7 separate regions of the Homo sapiens genome follow, and regions 1, 3, 4, 5, 6 and 7 are each linked to region 2. The links are contacts of gene promoters, found by promoter capture Hi-C in blood cells and fetal thymus (Javierre and others, 2016). All regions are on one chromosome and are shown on one strand. Each heading gives the region's core, a stretch centred on a gene start or on the middle of the fragment in contact. The rest is flanking DNA. Distances are from core to core; before and after follow the strand shown. Region 1 has its middle 79 kb from the start of DCLK3. Region 2 holds the start of STAC (SH3 and cysteine rich domain). Region 3 has its middle 210 kb from the start of MIR128-2. Region 4 has its middle 290 kb from the start of STAC. Region 5 overlaps DCLK3 (doublecortin like kinase 3). Region 6 has its middle 260 kb from the start of MIR128-2. Region 7 has its middle 230 kb from the start of MIR128-2.

Evidence for each region. The method cuts DNA at HindIII sites, captures the fragments that hold promoters and counts their contacts. A CHiCAGO score of 5 or more calls a contact.
Region 1: a contact is called between a fragment that was not itself captured here and the fragment with the promoter of STAC in region 2, in 1 of 17 cell types (megakaryocytes). The highest score is 5.0, in megakaryocytes.
Region 3: a fragment that was not itself captured here is called in contact with the fragment with the promoter of STAC in region 2 in 1 of 17 cell types (megakaryocytes); the score reaches 6.1 in megakaryocytes.
Region 4: a fragment that was not itself captured here is called in contact with the fragment with the promoter of STAC in region 2 in 1 of 17 cell types (megakaryocytes); the score reaches 5.3 in megakaryocytes.
Region 5: a contact is called between a fragment that was not itself captured here and the fragment with the promoter of STAC in region 2, in 2 of 17 cell types (megakaryocytes and M0 macrophages). The highest score is 5.8, in megakaryocytes.
Region 6: a contact is called between a fragment that was not itself captured here and the fragment with the promoter of STAC in region 2, in 1 of 17 cell types (megakaryocytes). The highest score is 10.2, in megakaryocytes.
Region 7: a contact is called between a fragment that was not itself captured here and the fragment with the promoter of STAC in region 2, in 1 of 17 cell types (megakaryocytes). The highest score is 10.2, in megakaryocytes.

What each region holds. Positions count from the first base shown.
Region 1 is chr3:36,684,009-36,686,708 of GRCh38, reverse strand. It overlaps the pseudogene RN7SKP227. Among named protein-coding and RNA genes, the nearest start is that of DCLK3, 79 kb to the left of the region's middle. The HindIII fragment of the contact is 251 bases long and covers 1,150-1,400 here.
Region 2 is chr3:36,379,055-36,381,754 of GRCh38, reverse strand. STAC (SH3 and cysteine rich domain) reads right to left here and starts at 1,251. Exons shown (of 11, transcript NM_003149.3): 1 at 1,001-1,251. The coding sequence starts at 1,111. The region is part of intron 2 of LOC124906227 (a long non-coding RNA gene); the gene reads left to right. The HindIII fragment of the contact is 3,341 bases long and covers 623-2,700 here.
Region 3 is chr3:35,952,993-35,955,692 of GRCh38, reverse strand. No RefSeq gene overlaps it. Among named protein-coding and RNA genes, the nearest start is that of MIR128-2, 210 kb to the right of the region's middle. The HindIII fragment of the contact is 544 bases long and covers 1,041-1,584 here.
Region 4 is chr3:36,092,780-36,095,479 of GRCh38, reverse strand. No RefSeq gene overlaps it. Among named protein-coding and RNA genes, the nearest start is that of STAC, 290 kb to the left of the region's middle. The HindIII fragment of the contact is 177 bases long and covers 1,333-1,509 here.
Region 5 is chr3:36,709,850-36,712,549 of GRCh38, reverse strand. DCLK3 (doublecortin like kinase 3) reads left to right here. Exons shown (of 5, transcript NM_001394672.2): 5 at 1-129. Among named protein-coding and RNA genes, the nearest start is that of DCLK3, 53 kb to the left of the region's middle. The HindIII fragment of the contact is 1,381 bases long and covers 728-2,108 here.
Region 6 is chr3:36,003,423-36,006,122 of GRCh38, reverse strand. No RefSeq gene overlaps it. Among named protein-coding and RNA genes, the nearest start is that of MIR128-2, 260 kb to the right of the region's middle. The HindIII fragment of the contact is 1,274 bases long and covers 686-1,959 here.
Region 7 is chr3:35,974,238-35,976,937 of GRCh38, reverse strand. No RefSeq gene overlaps it. Among named protein-coding and RNA genes, the nearest start is that of MIR128-2, 230 kb to the right of the region's middle. The HindIII fragment of the contact is 9,312 bases long and covers 1-2,700 here.

The DNA of each region.
Region 1 (2,700 bases), core at 26-2,525, 300 kb before region 2:
CTTAGTGAGAAAACTGACATTTTCTCACCATTAAGTATGTTAGCTGTAGAGTTTTTGAGGAAGTTCTATTCCTAATTCACTGAGAGATTTCAAAAAATCATGAATGGGTGTTGGGTTTTGTCAAATGCTTTTTCTACATCTATTGTGTGTTTTTTCTTCTTTAGCCTGTTGATATGATGTATTGCATTAATTGGTTTTCTACTGCCAAACAATGTTTGCATACTTACAATAAATCTCACTTGGTTGTGGTGTATAATTCTTTTCATACATTGTTAGGTTTGATTTCTTAATATTTTGTTGAGGAATTTTGCATCTATGTTCATAACAGATATTGGTCTGTAGTTTTATTTTCTTATATCTTTGGTTTTTGCATTAAGGTAACACTGACCTCATAAAATGAACTAGGAAGTATTCCCTCTGCTTCTGTCTTCTGAAAGAGATTGTAGAGAATTGGTATTTCTTCCTAAATCCTTGCTAGAATTCACCAGTGAACCCATCTAGGCCTGGTTCTTTCTGTTTTGGAAGGTTATAAATTATTGATTTAATTTCTTTAATAGATAAACGCCTATTCCAATGGTCTATTTCTTCTTGTGTAAGTTTTGACAGATTGTGTCTTTCTACGAATTGATCCACTTCAATTAGGTTATCAAATTTGTGGACATAGAGTCATTAATAGTACTCTTTTATTATTATTTTAATGTTCATAGGATTTTTAGTAATGTCTTTCTTTCATTTCTGTTATTAGTGACTTGTGTTCACTCCATTTTTTTTTTTCTTAGTTAGCCTGGCTAACTAAGTATTTTTTAACTACTATTTGTTGAAGACAATATGCTTTCTCTGTTGTGTTGTCTTGGCACCCTTGCTATGATTTGACCTATGGATTTATTTTTGGGCTTTCTTTTCTGTTCCATTGGTCTATATGTTTGGCTTTATGTAAATATTTGATTATGTTATTATGATAATATACACTTAAAATATTATGTAAATATTTGATTACTGTAGCTTTGTAATATGCTTTGAAGTGAGGAAGTGTGAAGCCTTCAGCTTTGTTCTTCTTTCTCAAGATTATTTTGGCTATTTGGGGTCCTTTGAGATTCCATAGAAATTTTGGGATATTCCTTTTATTTCTGCAAAAAATGTGATTAAGCTTTCAATAGGGATTGGATTGAATCTGTAGATTACTTTGGGCAGTACAGACATTTTCACAAAATGAAGTCTTCCAATTCATGAACATAGGATGTCTTTCCATTTATTTATGTCTTCTTTTATTTATTTTAGCATCGTTTTATAGTTTTCATTGTGCAAGTCTTTTGTCTCCTTGTGTTTTTTTGTTTTTTCAAAAGAAAGGCAGACTGCTATATGCAGCACCTCATTTGGAAGTGTCTGGAGTCTTGGAAGCTTGACTACCCTACATTCTCCTACAAATGGACCTTGAGAGCTTGTTTGGAGGTTCTAACAGGAGAATGCAGCTTCTTGTATACCCTTGACTGAAGACCAGTACTTCTCTATGGGTGATGGTCGTCCCCTTCGACCAGTGCGCAGCTTCAAGAGAGATGCACATGGAGCAGTGAGGGAGAAAAGAGACACCTGCCTATCCAGCTGGATCAGCCAAATCAACGCTGGCAATCAATGGGGTGACAGATGTTGCAGTGAGATCACCCTCACATCCTTTTTGTCTCCTTGTTAACTTTATTTCTTTTTGATGCTGTTGTAAATGGGATTGCATCGATTTTTAAAAAATTTATTTATTTATTTATTTAGTTTTTTCATAAGTTGTTGGGGTACAGGTGGTATTTGGTTGCATGAGTACGTCCTTTAGTGGTGATTTGTGAGATTTTGCTGCACCTGATTGCATCAAATTTTGGATGTGTGCCCTAGAGGTGGCATTGCTAGTCGTGTGATAGTTTTATTTGTAATTTTTTGAGGAATGTCCACACTGTTTACTAATTTCATTTTTGAAGTGCTTATTTCCTAATTTCTTTTTAAATTTATTTTTTTAATTGCTCGTTTTTAGTGTATAGAAACACAATTGATTATTGAGTGTTGATTTCGTATCCTGCAACTTTGCTGAATTTTTTTATTTTTAATTCTAACAGTATTTTTGTGTGGAATCTTTAGGATTTTCTGCATATAAGATCGTGTCATCTATGAACAGAGATAATTTACTTCTTTCTTTCCAATTTCTGTGTCTTTTATTTCTTTTTTCTGTCTAATTGCTCTGGCTAGAACTTCCAGTACTGTGCTAAATAGAAGTGGTGAAAGTGGGCATCCTTGCCTTGTTCCTAATCTTAGAGGAAAAGCTATGTTTTTCACCATTGCATATGATGTTAGCTGTGGGCTTTTCATATATGATCTTTATTATGTTGATGTAATTTTCTTCTATTCCTAGTTTGATGGTTATTTTTTATCATGAAATAATTTTTAATTTTGTTAAATGCTTTTTATTCATCAATTGAGGTGATGAGTTTGCTAGTATTTTGCTGAAGTTTCTGCATTAATATCCATCAGAAATATTGCTCTATAATTTTCTTTCTTGTGGTATCTTTGTCTGACTTTGGCATCAGGGTAATGCTGGTCTCATAAAATGAGTTTGGAAATCTTCCCTTCTCCTTATTTTCAAGAAGAGTTTGAAAAAAATTGACATTGATTCTTTGAATGTTTCATAGAATTTTCCAGTGAAGCCATCTGGTTCGGGGCTTT
Region 2 (2,700 bases), core at 2-2,501:
TTTTCATCCTCCTGATCATATCAATGGCTTCCAGGGATGCATGTGAAGAGAGACAGGATCGCAGTCTTCCTTGCCCCATCTGGCCTGTCCCTATCCTATAAACTGGCAACCCCTTTCCTTTGCTGGTATACACGGACTGCCTCACATTCCCCAAATGCCTGGGGATCGCACAATGAAATCAGAATAAAGAGCCAGGAGCTCTACACTTAAAAGAATCCACATAACTACAAACTCCATCTTAGGATTTCCACCACCAGCTGAGTTGCCATTTGGCATTGCACTGCTAGCAGCCACATTTTACTCTATCCTCTTCCAAGATTTTCAAACATGTGCCTGGCACCCACGGGAGTTTCAGAGGAAGTGTAACAGTGACAGGAGAACTGCTGCGGGCTTGGTTTTTTGTATACGTGTTAGTGTAACTTTCATAAAAGCAAGTATAGGTTCTTAGAGTATTAACTTTCACAAGAGGAACATCAACTTTCAGACAAACGCAGGCAAACCCTTTCTTTTTCTTTTTCTTTTTTAGTGAGTAGTATCTGAAGGTAGGGGTGATCCCTGTTAAGCAAAAGGTCTCTGAGACCCTTGGGATACATACATGCTTTTCTGGCCCAGTACTCAAGCTTTTCTGGAAGAGTATCCCTCGGCTGTCTCCATCCCTCAGCCTTCAGAAGCCACCTAATACCTACCTACACGTGCTTTGGACACAAGCAGGTTCAAAGCACAAAAAAAACCAAGCTACCACCCCGCAAGAAATCGATCTCTGAACCCGGAGCCACCATGAATTGCGTGTGTGAATGTGTGGGCGGGAAGGCTGGGTCCACAGGGACGTGGTCCAGCATCGTGAGCAGCGGGTCCTACCGGACGTTCAAGTCCTACAGCCCTGGGCTAACTAGCAAGTCTCAGACCCCCACGCCCGTGCTAGATAGGAGGAGAGACAAAGCTGGACCGACAGGAGAGGAGAGTGAGTTTGTGTTCTCTTGGGGGCAAGCGTGCTCGGTACCTTGGATTCCTGGCTGCTGGTGGATGCAGGAGAGGGCGGTTGCTCGGCGCCCACCGCCTCCTTGGGCAGCCCGTCCACGCCGTCCTCGCGGGGGCTGCTCGGAGGGATCATCGTGGCCGCGCGGGAACGGTGTTGGGCTCCCGGAGGAACAGCGAGGCTTCTGTCCTGCGCGCCCTGCCCGCCGCGCGCCAGGCTGCTCAGCTCCGGGTCCTGGGGACTCCCATCCTCGCCGAGGCGCCGACGTGCCCTCCTCCAGCCTCGCTCCCTCTCCCTCCCCGCCCTGCCCACCTCCCCGGCACTTCCGCGGGCGTGGAGGAGAGTGCGCCCTGCCCCGCCCCGCCGCGCCCGCGGCCACCTCGCCGGCGACCTCACAGTCGTGACTGCCACTCGGCAGCGGGCGAGCGGGCTTCTGCTCGCCCGCAGGAGGAGGAAGGAGGCGGGGAGGCAGCTCCAGGGCGGGGCTGCGCGGCCAGCGCCTGGAGTAGTGAGGGCAGGCAGGGGGCAGCGCCCTGGAAAGGGCTGGGGGAAGGCTGGGCGCACGCCGGCACTGGGTGGGGGTGATTCTTCAGAGAGGATGCTGAAAATTCAGACCCAAACCCCAAAGAATAGAAAATCTGTGAATGATATAGCCAGAAAGAGCCACTTGCAACAACTCCCTCATTCCTCACCCCAACGAATAGTGACTGAGACAGTGACTTAGCTAAGCTATTTATAGGGTTCAGTGACAGAGAGCAGGGGTCGGAGTGGGGGTCCCCTGACTCACGGGCACTGCGTTTTCTCCATTCAGCTTTGATCTAAAGCAGAGAGATAATGCAGTGTGTATATGGACACCTGTTCCTCGTTTGTTGTGCACTTATTGTACTAAACCCTTTCTTTTTACCTTATTTAATCCTCCCAGCTACTCTATGCGTCTAGGGATTATCACTTCCATTTTATAGATGAGGAAGTTGAGGCTGTAGGAAGACTGAGTAATTTGCTTTAAGTCACTAAACTATAATTGGTGAAACTGGAATTCGAACACATTTGGGCTTCAAAATCCATGCATTTCCGACTGTGGAGCCTCAAATCTAGGCCAGGTCTTGGCTGAAGAGCAATTGGATGTTGCAGTATAGCAAGAGTTGAGGACTGTTCACAGAGGGGCAAACCAGCCTGCCTTACTAAATCTTTTGGAAACATAGGAATAGCCCCACTGAATAAAGATACAGAGGGTCCAGTTTCTTTTGAAGACAACCTCAGTGTGCAGGGAAAAGAAACACACCTAGATATTTAAAAGCCTCTTTTCCCCCATTAATACAAAATACCCTCAATTTTTTAAAACAAAATTGCAAACTTCTGTTCAGATTTTTAAAATTAGCTGTAGATGTTTGCAAGAACAGCTTCATGGATGTGCAACCTGTGCAGTCACACAGGGCCCCGCGCTGATGCTGCCATCTTGAAATTCGGTAAAAATATTTAACAAGAGATCACATTTTCATTTTGTACTTGACCCTGCAAATTATGTGTTTGGTCCTGCATCCATGCCCTAGCTCATGTCTTTTAGAATAAACTTGCTCTTACTCTTTCCATCCCAGATGTCAATTGAAAGCTACTGTTCAATGTGTCAGCCTCTTACTCAGCATTTAGCTTTCAAAATGCTCTAAATTTTCTGGTGACCCTCAGTACGGGGCCAGATTGGCTAGCCCAAATGGCTTCAGCTTTTT
Region 3 (2,700 bases), core at 63-2,562, 430 kb after region 2:
CTGTTAGCCCCATGACTATACTGATTCCGCAGCACATGCTGCAGATCACCTCTGGGGACCAAGGAAGCACAGGTGAACCAGTACTCAAGTTCTAGTCCTTATGGCAACCCTTAGCCAGGACCTAGATTCCTTAAATTTTGGGGTATTACAAAAAACACAGGTTTGGAAGTGAAAATTTCTGCGGTCTCACCAAACCACCAAAGTTAAAGTGGCTTTGAAAAGCAGTTTAATCTCTGATTCTTGATTTCCTTGCTGTAGCAGTGGTAGTACCTCCCTGGTAGAACTGAGGAGGCTTTAGATGTGAGAATGCATGTGGAAGTACACGCTGAACGATGCCATTGGTGGTGGTGTTCAGGAATGGCCCTCTGCCAAGTGCTGGACCCATTTCTCCACATCCTGATTTTCCTTTCTCCAGGGTGTTTTATGGTTTTGTGCAGCACAAATTCACCCTCTGGAGGCTGAGCCTTATTCTCAGAAATCTTTATCTCATGCCTCTCAGCACACACAAAATTACTTAAAGATCCTTAGATTTAAATGAGAATGATTGATATATTTTGTGTTTTAACACTTGGGGAGGTATGCTTTTAAATAAGATAAAGTTTATCACAATAACTTACTGGTAGTGATATTATAGGAAAAATGAGGGCCATTTTCTTCTGTAGGGTTTTTCCCAGGAGAGCTACTGTTGTCACTAGTATTGCCTACTGTACATTTATATACACATATGTGTGAAAGTTCCTAAGACTATATACAACATAGGTTCCCACCCCTTGGAAAAAGCAACTGAGAAAATTTCTGTGTAAGAGTGAAGACGGGCCATCACTCCTGAGCTAAGCAGGGAAACCAGAACAAACAGTGACTTGCAATCAGGAAAAAATTTCCTCAGGATAGAGAACATGACAGAATAAAATAAAAAAAAATTATACTTGCATGTATAATTTAAAATCTGTATCAACATCTCTACTTCTTTAAATAGTAATTAAAATGTTTTGAATTCTTCTTGGCTAATGCATGTATTCAGAATATAAAATAGATAAGCTTTGAAAGAAGACATGTGTTTAAAAATAGAAAAGCAAGATTAAGGCAGGAGGTCCCTCCTTGTGCTCTGGTTTAACACAGTTGCAAGGGAAAGAAGTGCTGACATTTGAAAGCTGCAGGGATCTTAGTTCTGGAAAAGCAGACACTGGGTCTTACTAGCAATGAAATTTAATACCCAGATCTTAACAGGTGGACAGGCTAAATCTGTGATATACTATTTAAACTTTTGTGTTTAATGCAGGAACTGGAATAGTGTGCACCATCAAATACTCTGTAAATGTTCACCATCATTGTTATTGGCCATTTTAAATGTGTTTTAGACCCTAATCTGCCTCTCAGCCTTCCCTTTGCACCATTATTTCTCTTACTCTCAGTGCGCTGTCCACATTACTCTTCAATCAGTTCTTCCAATAAACTATAACATTTTTCAACTTTAGAACCTTCTTTCATGATTCTTTCCCTACCCAGAAATCTGCTTTCTTTACTCAACTAACATTTTCTCATACTTAAGATTTTATCCCACATTTTTATTTCTTTGCACAAGCTTTCCTGAGACAAAAAAAGAAAAAAAAAGATATTTAGAATGGACAGAGAGAAGATGCAGTCCCCAGACTGAAGGGGAAGGAAGCTTGGGACCCTGCATAGGGTCACTGAACACCAGGACTCATTCCTGGCCCATAGCAGCTTCTAGGGAAGGGCTGAGTAAAACAGGCATGTAATGGTGCACTCTCACCATGAACCTCCAGAATCCTAGCAACAGGAGATCCCATGACCCCCACAGACACCTGAGCTAGCAAGGAGAACTGCCTGGAGAATTGACAGATAAATAACTTCAGCCTGTGCAGAGCCCAGAAGGTTTGGTGTGGGAACAGCTGCAGTGGAGCACAGCCATGTGTGTTCAACCCCCAAAGCTCACCATACTCTAAGGGGCTTTAGACTTTGTTAGCTACCAGGCTTGGACAGAGCAGAGCTGTCTTACCTGTGAGACAGGAATAGTCTTATCTGAGCACTTGCCTGTCTGCCAGCCTCTCGCAGAGTCCCTGCTTGGCTGCACCCATGCAGTACAGCCTCAGCTTGCCAGTGGCCGCCACCAGAGCTCTTTTGCCAGCAGACCCCACCTACCCATCAGAGCACTTTGCAGATGGACCTCCACCAGTGTGCACTCCCTCACAGTCTCCCCACACTGCCCCACTGGAATGCATACATGTGGGTTCTCTCTGCCACCCTGCTAGCATGCATCCATTCACAGACCCATCTCCAGCACACTGCTGGCACACACATGCACAGGGTCCCACCGCCACCTCACTAGAGATTTTGCTGGCAGCCCCTGTTGGAGTGTTGTTGCTAGTGTGCTGGGAACACCTTGGCCCCTCCAGTGCAGCACATACTAAACTCAAGGGCCCAGAAAACAAAGTCACAGGCCTGATCCCAGCTGCCAAGATTAGAGCATACAGCCGAGGAGTGCTGAGCTAAGCCTTGGCCACCTGAAAGGATCAGAAATAAAGCCAATTGACTAAACCCAATTTATAACACAGTCAAACTCTCATGTGCATAAAAAATATATATAAAAGCAAAAAGTTCCATCCAGAAGACAGCAACCTCAAAGATTAAAGGAACATCAGCCCACAGAGATGAGAAAGAACCAGCCCAAGAACATGGGAA
Region 4 (2,700 bases), core at 172-2,671, 290 kb after region 2:
TTGTCCACTCAAGAGGCAAAGTCAGCTCAAGAGTTTTTCTTCTTCTCTCTTTCACTTTCCTCTGTCTTTCACTTCCCATTTCACTTCCTTAAGATTGCTTTCTGACGTAGATTACCTTCAGCAATTTTTTTTGGATCGTGCCTCTTTTTTATTACAATTTTATTCTGATACAGGCTCTACTTTGTAATAACATTTAATTTTAATGCAATTTCAATTAAAAATTTTATTGTGTATATTTAAGCTTTACAACTTACTATTTTGATATATATAGTGAAATGATTACTTATAGTGAAGCAAATTAACATACCCATCACCTTACATAGTTACCTTTTCTATTTGTGTATGTGGTAAGATCACCTAAATCCTACCTTCCTAGCAAATTTTCAGTGTACAATACAATATTAGTTAATAACTAATAATTAGTTAATACTTAGTTGGTATTATTAACTAATATTGTGTTATACACTGAAAACATACATGTTATTGTTTCACACTGTCCTTTGCAGGGGGAACCAGTCTCCAGTATCCTTGCTCCTACCCACATAAGTGGAATTCTCTTACTTGAAACTAAACTGATCTTTTGACTTGGAGAACTCGAGGCATTCTATACTGGTATTTATATTAGTCTTCCTACTCGTCTGACAATGGTCTTCAACCTGCATTTTGCCACCAGATTTTTTGCCTTGTGAAGTTATCTGGTCAGTCACTCAGCAAATACTTGTCATATTATTTCTACCATAAACCCTTCCTGGAAATTCAGAAAAGATACTGTACCTGTGGCCAGACAGTTTAGGAAGCAGTGAAAGAATAGATATGCAGATAAATAATTTACTAAAATCAGAAGAATGAGCTTTAACTTATTCTTTTGTGTGTTGGCGTGTGTACACACATTTTCTCCCACAATTATATAACAAGAATATAATAATATAAAAACAGGAATATATATTATTCTTGTTATATAAATGTGGAAAGATTTTCTTCCTGTAACCGAGGTTTGGGTCTGCAAGGTAGTATCTTTCTGCAGGTTTTCAGGTACCTGCTCCTCTAAGACAGTTGTTATCAAACTCAAAGGAGCATCAGAATCACCTGGCAGGCTTGTTAGAACACAGATTTCTGGGCATACCCTCAGAATTTCTGATTCAGTAGTTCTGGGTTCAGGCCCCCAGATTTGCACCTTTAGCAGTTTCTCAGGTGATGCTGTACTGCTGTTTCTGGACCACACTTGAGAGCCACCTAAGAAGAAAGGGTCATTGACTGCTCTTTCCTCCAACCATTCTGGAGGAATCCCTTCATCAATGGTTTATTTAGAATCCTGAAAAGACTGAGGAAGCTTGTGAACTTTATTCCCACAGTTCTTGTAAGGAAAGATCTTTGAGACCCATTAATTGTACCGCTTTGAAGCCATCCTTACCTCTTTTTTATTCTCACCAGCAGAATGCATGTTCATTATTCTCAAAATGACCTGGAAAAATTCCATTCATGACCACAATCTAGGCATCAAATGAAGCTTTCCTCATTAATCTTCCAACTCTAGGCGCATAATCTCTATGACCACCATCCTTTTATGTGCTTCAGCTTTATCAGGAAAATTGTGGAAGGCTTTGAAATGGGCAAGAGCACATTATTTTGTGTCCTGTCTAGGTCATCCATCAAGGTTATCGCCCTTTTGTATTATCTCTGAACTATTTTACAACTCTAGAAAATGCACAAAACATAATCACGCAAATGATTTGTGTCCATAGAAATGCAAACTAATTGCATCTGGTGGAATGCAATTATTGACCATTGGATAGAGTTATTTTCATTTATTTGCAAATCCATTTCAAAAATCTGTTTCTGCTCTCTGAATTCTCTGTTGAATCAGCTGTATCATCTTATTGGTTCTCTCATTAATTAATGAGATAAATACAACGTTTGAATCTTTCACACGTGTTCATTTTTTATTTGTGTGAGCCATAATTATGCTTTCTTTAGAGCATTATCTATTGACAACAATACCAATCATCATATTGAATTCTAGTGGTTTAGTTATATTTAAAGCATCCCTCTGCTCACCTCGCTGTAAGCTTCTAGAACTCTGACACCATATTTATCTTTATATTCTCAGATTCTATCAGTGTTTACAGTGAGTGTTTAATAAATATTTGTTAGTTAAATAAAAAGCATGTTGCTTTAGGACAGAAGATAGAAAATGAGAAAAGTAGGCAGAATCTAGTTTTTAAAGGTTATTAAATACCATTTTAAAGAGTATGAGCTTTATCCAGAGGGTACAAGTTCCTGAGGAACCATTGAGGACTTTCAGATAATCAAATTTGCATTTGAGAATGATCCCTCTCTGCAACAAAGAGGTTGTATTTGAAGAAAAGAACACTGCAGACAGAAAGACCATTAAAAACTATTATAGCAAATGCACCGAAAGACCTTACATTCCATCTCTAGAAACTCAGTCATCATGTGTAAATTTTCTGTTTTCAGGGCATCATAGTTCCTCTTGCAGTTTCTGTCGCTTGGGATGGAGTAATTTGGTTTCCCAAAATCTTGGTACCATGATTGTGTCACTGTACTCAAATACATCTCTAGGTGGGTGCTGTCTGCCTAAGTCTTTTCAGATAGCTTCTTCATATTGTGGTAGATTTTCTGTTGTAGGAACACCCTACTGTTACAACTGGATTCCCATGATACTCCATTGATTGCCTGGCC
Region 5 (2,700 bases), core at 169-2,668, 330 kb before region 2:
TGTTCATTTTCTTGAATGTAATAATGGATTTATGGGGGTATATATGTCAAAACTTACCAAATTGTACACTTTTGTTATGTGCAGTTTATTGTGTGTCAATTATACCTCAATAAAGTTGTTAAAAATATAGTTGCAGGTCCTCAAAGTTCAGTCCTAGACTCTATTTTCACTCTATTTCACCTGGCAACTTCATTTACACTCACTGTCTATTTGCAGATGAGCTTCTCCTTCCCTGCCCCCAGTTATGTTTCCATCCAAGGCTTCTCTAAGTTCTAGGCCCACCTTTCCAACTGCCTACAGAACATATCCCTGCACAGCCATCAGAGGTTCCTCTACAGCAGAATGCACAATTATCACCTCCAAACCTGTCCTTCCTCTATTTCTCCCTATCTCAGGGAATGGTGTTGTTCAGCAAGTTCAAAACACAGGCATCACCCTTGATACCTCACTCTCTGACTCCTGAATCAGTCCCTCCCCATTGATTTACTTCCTCAGTGTTGCTTGGATCTGTCCACTAAACTTTCTTAGTTTCTCTTCCATTGGACGTTTAGGCTGTTTCTCAGTAATTATTTATTCTTACAAACATGCTGTATTTACCATCCATCCTATATGCATCCTTTGCACATGTGTAGGAGAATTTCTTTTCTTAGATAGAAAATCTCCAACTTGATCAGATATTGCCAACTTGATTTTTTAATTTATCCTCCCATAAAGAGTGATGAAAGCTTCTTTTCTCTCATGGTTTACCACATGGTTTTGCTTTTTATTACTCAAATGATAATATTTGAACATAATTGAGAAATAACACAGAAGCTGTGTTGTTATTACAACAAAGCTGTGTTCAAAACTTTGACAATTGTGTAGCACTTAATATATAGCTCTTGGAGTGAATTCCAGTGTGTATCTCATTTCCACCCAGAACAATGGCACCACTGGCTATGATTCTCAGCCCTGCTTTACAGATGGGGAGACTGAGGCTCAGAGAAATAACCTGACTTGCCTGTCATCACTTGGTTTACAAAAAATGCCAGCTGCCAGATAAGCCCTGCAGTGCAGAGTGGCACCATCCCTTCCGTTCCCGGCCTCTGCTCTGTGTCTGATCCTGCAAGGCCAGATCCCAAATACCCATGGATAAGCAATACTAAAAAGACTCCTTTCTGCAACAGAGGTACTTTTTCTAGAGGCTCCTTTAACTCCAGCCCCAGTCCTTCCACTTCATGAGACCTGGAAGGCTGTGTTTGAAACCAGTGGCCAGTACTGTGGGGCCAGGGGCATCACATGCAACCCAATCACCTACAGATTTGTTGGGAGTTGATGGTGAATGTGGAGGTGGCTTAGGAGTCATGGTTGGTCCTTCCAAGGGGGACACTTCCAGTGGAGAAGCCCCAGGGGTGACTGTCAAGTGACTTGTGTTCTTTCTAGGGCTTGGCTCCAGTGCCTCTTGAGTTGGGCAATCATAAGGCAACAGCTTTGTGTTTCTTACCTGCTCCAGGTGGCACGGGAGTTTCTGATTCTCTCTTCCCCTGAAAACTCATGACACTGATGTGGAGGCTCTGGTTGCCTTATTGATCCCTGAAGCACCCACTATTCTGATCCTGCCCTGGGCTGAATTGAGTCTCCTCACTCAGTCATATCTTTCTCCAGGGAAGCTCACATCCGATAACAGGTTGATCTGGGTTAAAAAGGTCCAGTCCCCTTGCTTCAACTCAGGACAGCTCACAGGGCCATGCTGTAGCTCCATGTGGGATCAGACATGGCCTTGGTTTCAACTAGACCACAGTTAGCTCCTTCTTCTGCTCAGTCCCACGCTATTCATACCTTCTTCCCCAGCAAGTGCTGACACAGAACAGTCCCCAGTAAACTTCCTGCACACATGCCTCTCTTTCAGTGTCTGCTTCCCAGGGAAACCAGCCTGTGACTTTCTCATAGCCAGTGAGAATGAGCAGGAGGCCACTGAGCTTGGGGACCATCTAGCCCCTCTTGACTGGAATGGACCTGCCTAATGCTTGGCTGCCCAGACTGAGGCTGATCCCAGAGGACCAGGGCACAGATCGGCTCTGGGTCCAGGGCTCTCTGAGTGAGTGCACCCTGCTGGCTTTGAGGAAGCTTTTAGCCATGTAATCCAGGGTACCAGCAAACTCAGAGGGTTTGCAGAAATAATTCTGGTTTTCTTTATTCAAAAGAGGGATTAGAATGAGTTCCAGTGTGTGAGCAAGACTGGCTGGGCCTGTGTGAGTAACGAGGGTCCAGCTCTATAGCTGTGCTGAGGAGTGGAGAGCAGCTCACCCAGGTGGTGCTGGATGCTGCTGGCCAGAGTGGGAGGAAGCTGAGCCTACCTGGAGAAATCTGGGGACACGGGGTTCTCCCAAGCAGACCCTGAGACAAGGACATAGGTGGATAGTTTATTTGGGAGGCAAAACCAAGAAGTGTGGAGAAGAAATGGGGAAATGAGTCCAGGAAGAGAGGAAGGCCAAGAAAGAGTGCATTCACGTGTGAGGGCCGCTGTGGGCAACTGGAGCTCACGTCCACTGAGAGCGCTCTTGAACACACTTCAGAACTGTCTCATACTGGGCAAGAAAACTGGAGTTGTATCCACCAACTACTGTCCTTTGTTCTTTGAGAGTTTCTCTTGGTGTATGAACTCCCTGCCACTTCTGTCCTGTTTCAAGCCAGGCAAGCTTCCAGTATATGCCAGGTCCT
Region 6 (2,700 bases), core at 73-2,572, 380 kb after region 2:
CATTACCAACTTATTTTGGTTATGTAGCTTTGTAGCATATTTTGAAGTCTGGTCGTGTGATACCTTCAGTTTTCTTCTTCTTCTTCTTCTTTGTTTTTTTAAATAAACCTAGATTTTACTTTAAGTGCATTATGTCATGATAAGTAATTCAGGATAATATTTTTTTAATTTCTGGGTTTCCAAGTTATTTGGAGTTTTAGGAAAAAGGGTATGGCCAATGGCATTAAGGATAAAGCACCACAATGAAAGACTGAGTCAATTTCAGAAACTAAAGTAGAAAATTGAGGAGCAAGGTAGGATCACTTGAATGCACTTTCGTTAGGATCCTGGGAGAGCTGCATCTCATTGTTAAGCCTACCTGGTTCTGATAAAAAAGGACCATTTACCACGAATAAGGATAGAAAAAGAGGGAGTAGGGTTGTCAACAGAGAAGCTGCCAGGAGCTTTGAATATTGTGTATGTGCCTTCACTGTCACCACATTTATAATTATATCCTGGATGCAGAGCCATTGTACTGTCCCCAGAATTTTGGCACATTTTTTAACCACTCTTGAATTGACTTAATTGCTGATTTCTGAAATTTTCACTTTAAAGATTCATTCATTTGGCTTTAAAATGCAAATCCCATTATTATTCATACACTAGCATGAATAATTGTAGTATTTTGATTAAGACTGATTAAGCTTTCCATTCATCAGGAAAAAATGTAGATGCACTACATATATTATTTGTATTTTATGTTACCTTCTAAATAGTAGTTACAGAATTCTAACTATTAAATAAGGTGTTTCTCAGAGTCCAAAATATTGTCTGATAAGAAAGTGAAAGGAAACAGTAAACAAAGTAGAGGTTCCACTGTCTAGGAAGACTGAGTAGTTTGTTAGAAAGATAATTTAGTGTATCCTAAGTGTTTTTATTTTGTCTTGGTTTTTATTCTTAACTTTTAAAATCCATATAATCACCTATAGAAATATTCCACATTTCTGATTTTAGATGACGTTAAGTTCTTCATGATAAAGAGAAGTCTAATGGTTGGGTTCAGTTTGTGAAGAACATGCAGGTATCAAATATCTATATCTCTTTCTTATTTATTATCTCTAACATGTTATGCAGCCTTATAATGGGATATCTTTTATGACTCTAAATATATGTGTCATAAAGTTGATTGAATGTTGGATTCAATTAGAGTTTTGGTTTCATCATGAGCATAAGGTAGTAGGATAGGAGATCAAAGAACTTGAAGATAAATAAGTCAGGTTCTACCAGAGAAGCAGTACTATATGATATTATTAACATACATGTGAAACAATACATTTAAATATAAGGAATCGGCTTATGCAATTGTGGAACCTGGCTAAGAAAGTAAAATTCCATAGGGCAGGCAGTCTGGGAGGCAAGATTATGGGCAGGCTGGAATTTATGGGCACAAGCTGAAGCTGTTGTCCACAGACAGTCAAGAAAGTAAGATTTTAAACTAGATGTAAGTCTATGAACAAGGTCCAAAGCTATTATCCACAGGTGGAATTCCTTTGTACCTTGGAGAAGTCTCAGTAAGGCTTTTATGGCCTTCCAGTTGCTTCAGTCAGGCCTACTCATATTATCCAGGATAATATACCTTACTTAAAGTTACCTGATTAGGGAGCTGAATTAGATTTGCAAAATACCTTTACAGTAACACCCAAGTTAGTGTTTGATTGAATAACTAGAGAAAATAACCTAGCCAAATTGACATATTGTAAAAGCCATCACAGAATTAACAAAGGGAGAGGTCATGTGACAGACCACAGTTTCTTCTTTGGATAATCTCTAAGGACATAAAGATTTATTTCCAACATCTTCAACTCATTCTCTCTGCTAGATTTTTTTCTTACTGACGTATTCTCAATTTTCTTCATTATCTCACATACCACCTTCTCTGCTACCCACCTAAGATTAACTTCCATATGAGCCCATGAAGCTTCTGAAATACTCCCACTTGTCACCACAGACATAGCTTTTTCTCGGCATAACTGATCATCAGCTCCTGTCACCAGAAAACAAATACATAGAATTAGTCAATGTGATAAGCTTGGAGTGATCATAACAATTTCTTTCATTCCAAAACCCATCCTCACATTCAATCAGTCATCAGAGTCTAATTTACTCATGCTTTTTTTATTTTCCTATTTTAACTTATTGCCAAACAATGCCGTGGAAAAACAAATTAAAATTTTCAATCCTCATGACAATTTGTGTATTATATAAAGAGAACAAAAAGATATATGTATAATTCAAAAAGTACAATAATGGAATAGATTTGTTTGAGCAAAGGAATAATCTAAGTGCTAAAGTAAAATGGCTGCATAAAAATCATGATACACTGAAAGAAAAGTCTTATAAAAACATATTAATATATTATCTTATAAATCAGTCTATTACAGCTGTTTTCTGTTAGCATTATTTGAAATTATTAAATATAAGCAATTTCACTACCTTGCATTCTTTATCTGAACTCTGAAAGTATACTTTCTCTCAACAGTAGCTTATTATTGGTTATGGCAAAAACATTACAGGTAAATGTAAGTCAAAACCTTGAGTTAAGTGAATTTACCTTCCCTTAGCATTTGCTGTTGGTGAACTTTTATATGCCTCCTTGTTTAGTCTTTGTTTTTAACAAAATTTTTGTTAATAACATACTATTGATAATATTAAGCCTTAGCA
Region 7 (2,700 bases), core at 103-2,602, 400 kb after region 2:
AATTCACTTAACATTTTAGGGCCTCAAATTCCTTATTGCTGATTGAAAGAAATTTAATAACATTTATTGGTTTTCATTAACTATATTGTATTTATCTTTAATTCTATCTTAATTGTTATATACATTTTTATCGTGTACACGAATAATTGTTTCTTAAAAAACAAATGATATGCAAAGGCATTTAATGAAAACAATGCCTTTCCTCTTCCCTTTAATGGACAGCCATTTTTTAAAAATTGTAGCTTATCATTCAGCTATCTCTCTCTCTCTCTCTCTATATATATATATAATAGTATACTATTTTACATAATTCTAAATATTAAATTTCTGACATGACAGATATTAAAATGTAGCAAAGATTGGTCATGTGTTATGTGTTAATTGTTGAAACCAGGCCATGGGTATGTGGGGCTTCTTGTATTATCCTACAATTTATACATAACTACTTAAAATTCCACCCAGTAAATGAAGATTTCGTTAATGTCCTAGGAAATCACTTCCCCAGGACCTCCTGGACTGCTATTTGAATATTAGTTTTCTTTTTTTTTTTTTTTTTTTTTGCTTCTTGCATTGTTGAATTCTGGATTTAATTTCTTTTCTGATTAGTCCCAATCCTAAATCCCATCTCTTTCTGGTTTTTATTTTATATTTTACTTGTGCATATCCTCAAGCAATGTCCAAATAAAATATCTTTAATCCATCCTCATATGTCATTGAGAATGTGTTTTAGGAAAAAAATATGCTCTACTAGAACTTTAAATGGCATTGTCTAGCTTTCTGTAATGTTACTCGTAAGTCTGAGACCATAGTGCCTTTTGTTCCTTTGTCAATAACTATTTTCTCCTATCCAAATACTTTTAATATTTTTTATTATCCTTATAGTTCTTGATATGGTTCAGCTCTGTGTCCCCACCCAAACTGCACCTGAATTGTAATTCCCATAATGTTAACATGTCAAGGATGGGACCAGGTGGAGGTAACTGGATCATAGGGCAGTTTCCTCCATGCCATTCTTGTGATGGTAAGTGAGTCTCATGAGATTGGATGGTTTTACAAGCATCTGGCATTTCCCCTGCTAGTGCTCAATCCATCCTGCTGCCCTATGAAGAAAGTTCCTGCTTCTCCTTTGCTTTCTGCCATGATTGTAAGTTTCCAGAGGCCTCCCCAGCAATGCAGAACTGTGAATCAATTAAACCTCTTTCCTTTACAAATCACCCTGTCTCAGGTGTTACTTCACAGCAGCATGAGAACAGACTAATACAGTAAATTTGTACTGAGAGTGGGGCATTGCTATAAGATACCTGAGAATGTGGAAGCGACTCTGAAACTGGGTAATGGGCAGAGGTTGGAACAGTTTGGAGGACTCCGAAGCAGACAGAAAGATGTGGGAAAGATTGGAACCTCCTAGAGACTTGTTTCATGGCTTTGACCAAAATTCTGATAGTGATATGGACAATGAAATCCAGGCTGAGGTGGTCTTAGGTGGAGATGAGAAACTTGTGGGAACTGGAGTAAGGTCACCCTTACTGTGCTTTAGCAAAAAGACTGGTGGCTTTTTGCCCCTGCCTTAGAGATCTGTGGAACTTTGAACCTGAGAGAGACAATTTAGGGTATCTGGTGGAAAAAATTTCTAAGGCAGCAAAGCATTCAAGAGGTGACAGAGCATAAAAGTTTGGAAAATTTGCAGCCTGATGATGCAGTAGAAACAAAAACCCATTTTCTGGGAAAAAATTTAAGCTGGCTGCATAAATTTGCATAAGAAATGAGGAGCTGAATGTTAATAGCCAAGACAATGGAGAAAATGTCTCCAGGGCATGTCAGAGGCCTTCACAGAAGCCCCTCCCATCATAGACCCTGAGGCCTAGGAGGGAAAAATAGTTTTATGGGCCAGGGCCAGGGCCAGGGCCCCCTCTGTTGTGTGCAGCCTCCAGACTTGATGCTCTGTGTCCCAGCTGCTCCACCTGTGGCAAAAAGGGCAAAGTTACAGCTCAGGCCACTGCTTCAGAGGGTGCAAGCCCCAATCTTTGGCAGCTTCCATGTGGTGTTGGTCCTGCAGGTGCATAGAAGACAAGAATTGAGTTTTGGGAACCTCTCCCTAGATTTCAGAGGTTGTATGGAAATGCCTGGATGTCCACGCAGAAGTTAGCTGCAGGGGCAAAGCCCTCATGGAGAACCTCTGCTAGGACAGTGCAGAAGGGAAATGTGGGGTGTGAACCCCGACACAGAGTCCCCACTGGGGCACTGCCTAGTGGAGCTGTGCAAAGAGTACCACTGTCCTCCAGACCCCAGAATGGTAGATCCACCAACTTGCACCATGCATGTGGAAAACCCACAGACACTCAACACCAGCTCATGAAAGCAGCTGGGAGGGGGGCTGTACCCTGCAAAGCCACAGGGACAAAGCTATCCAAGGCCATGGGAGCCTACCTCTTGCATCAGCATGACCTGGATGTAAGACAAGGAGTCAAAGGAGATCATTTTGGAACTTTAAGGTTTAATGGCTGCCCTTTTGGATTTTGAACTTCCATGGGGCCAATAGCCCTTTTGTTTTGACCAATTTATCCCATTTGGAATGGATATATTTACCCAATGCCTGTACCCCATTTAATCTACGAAGTAACTAACTTGCTTTTGATTTTACAAGCTCATAGGCAGAAGTGACTTGCTTATTTTGGATGAGACTTTAGACTTGGACTTTTG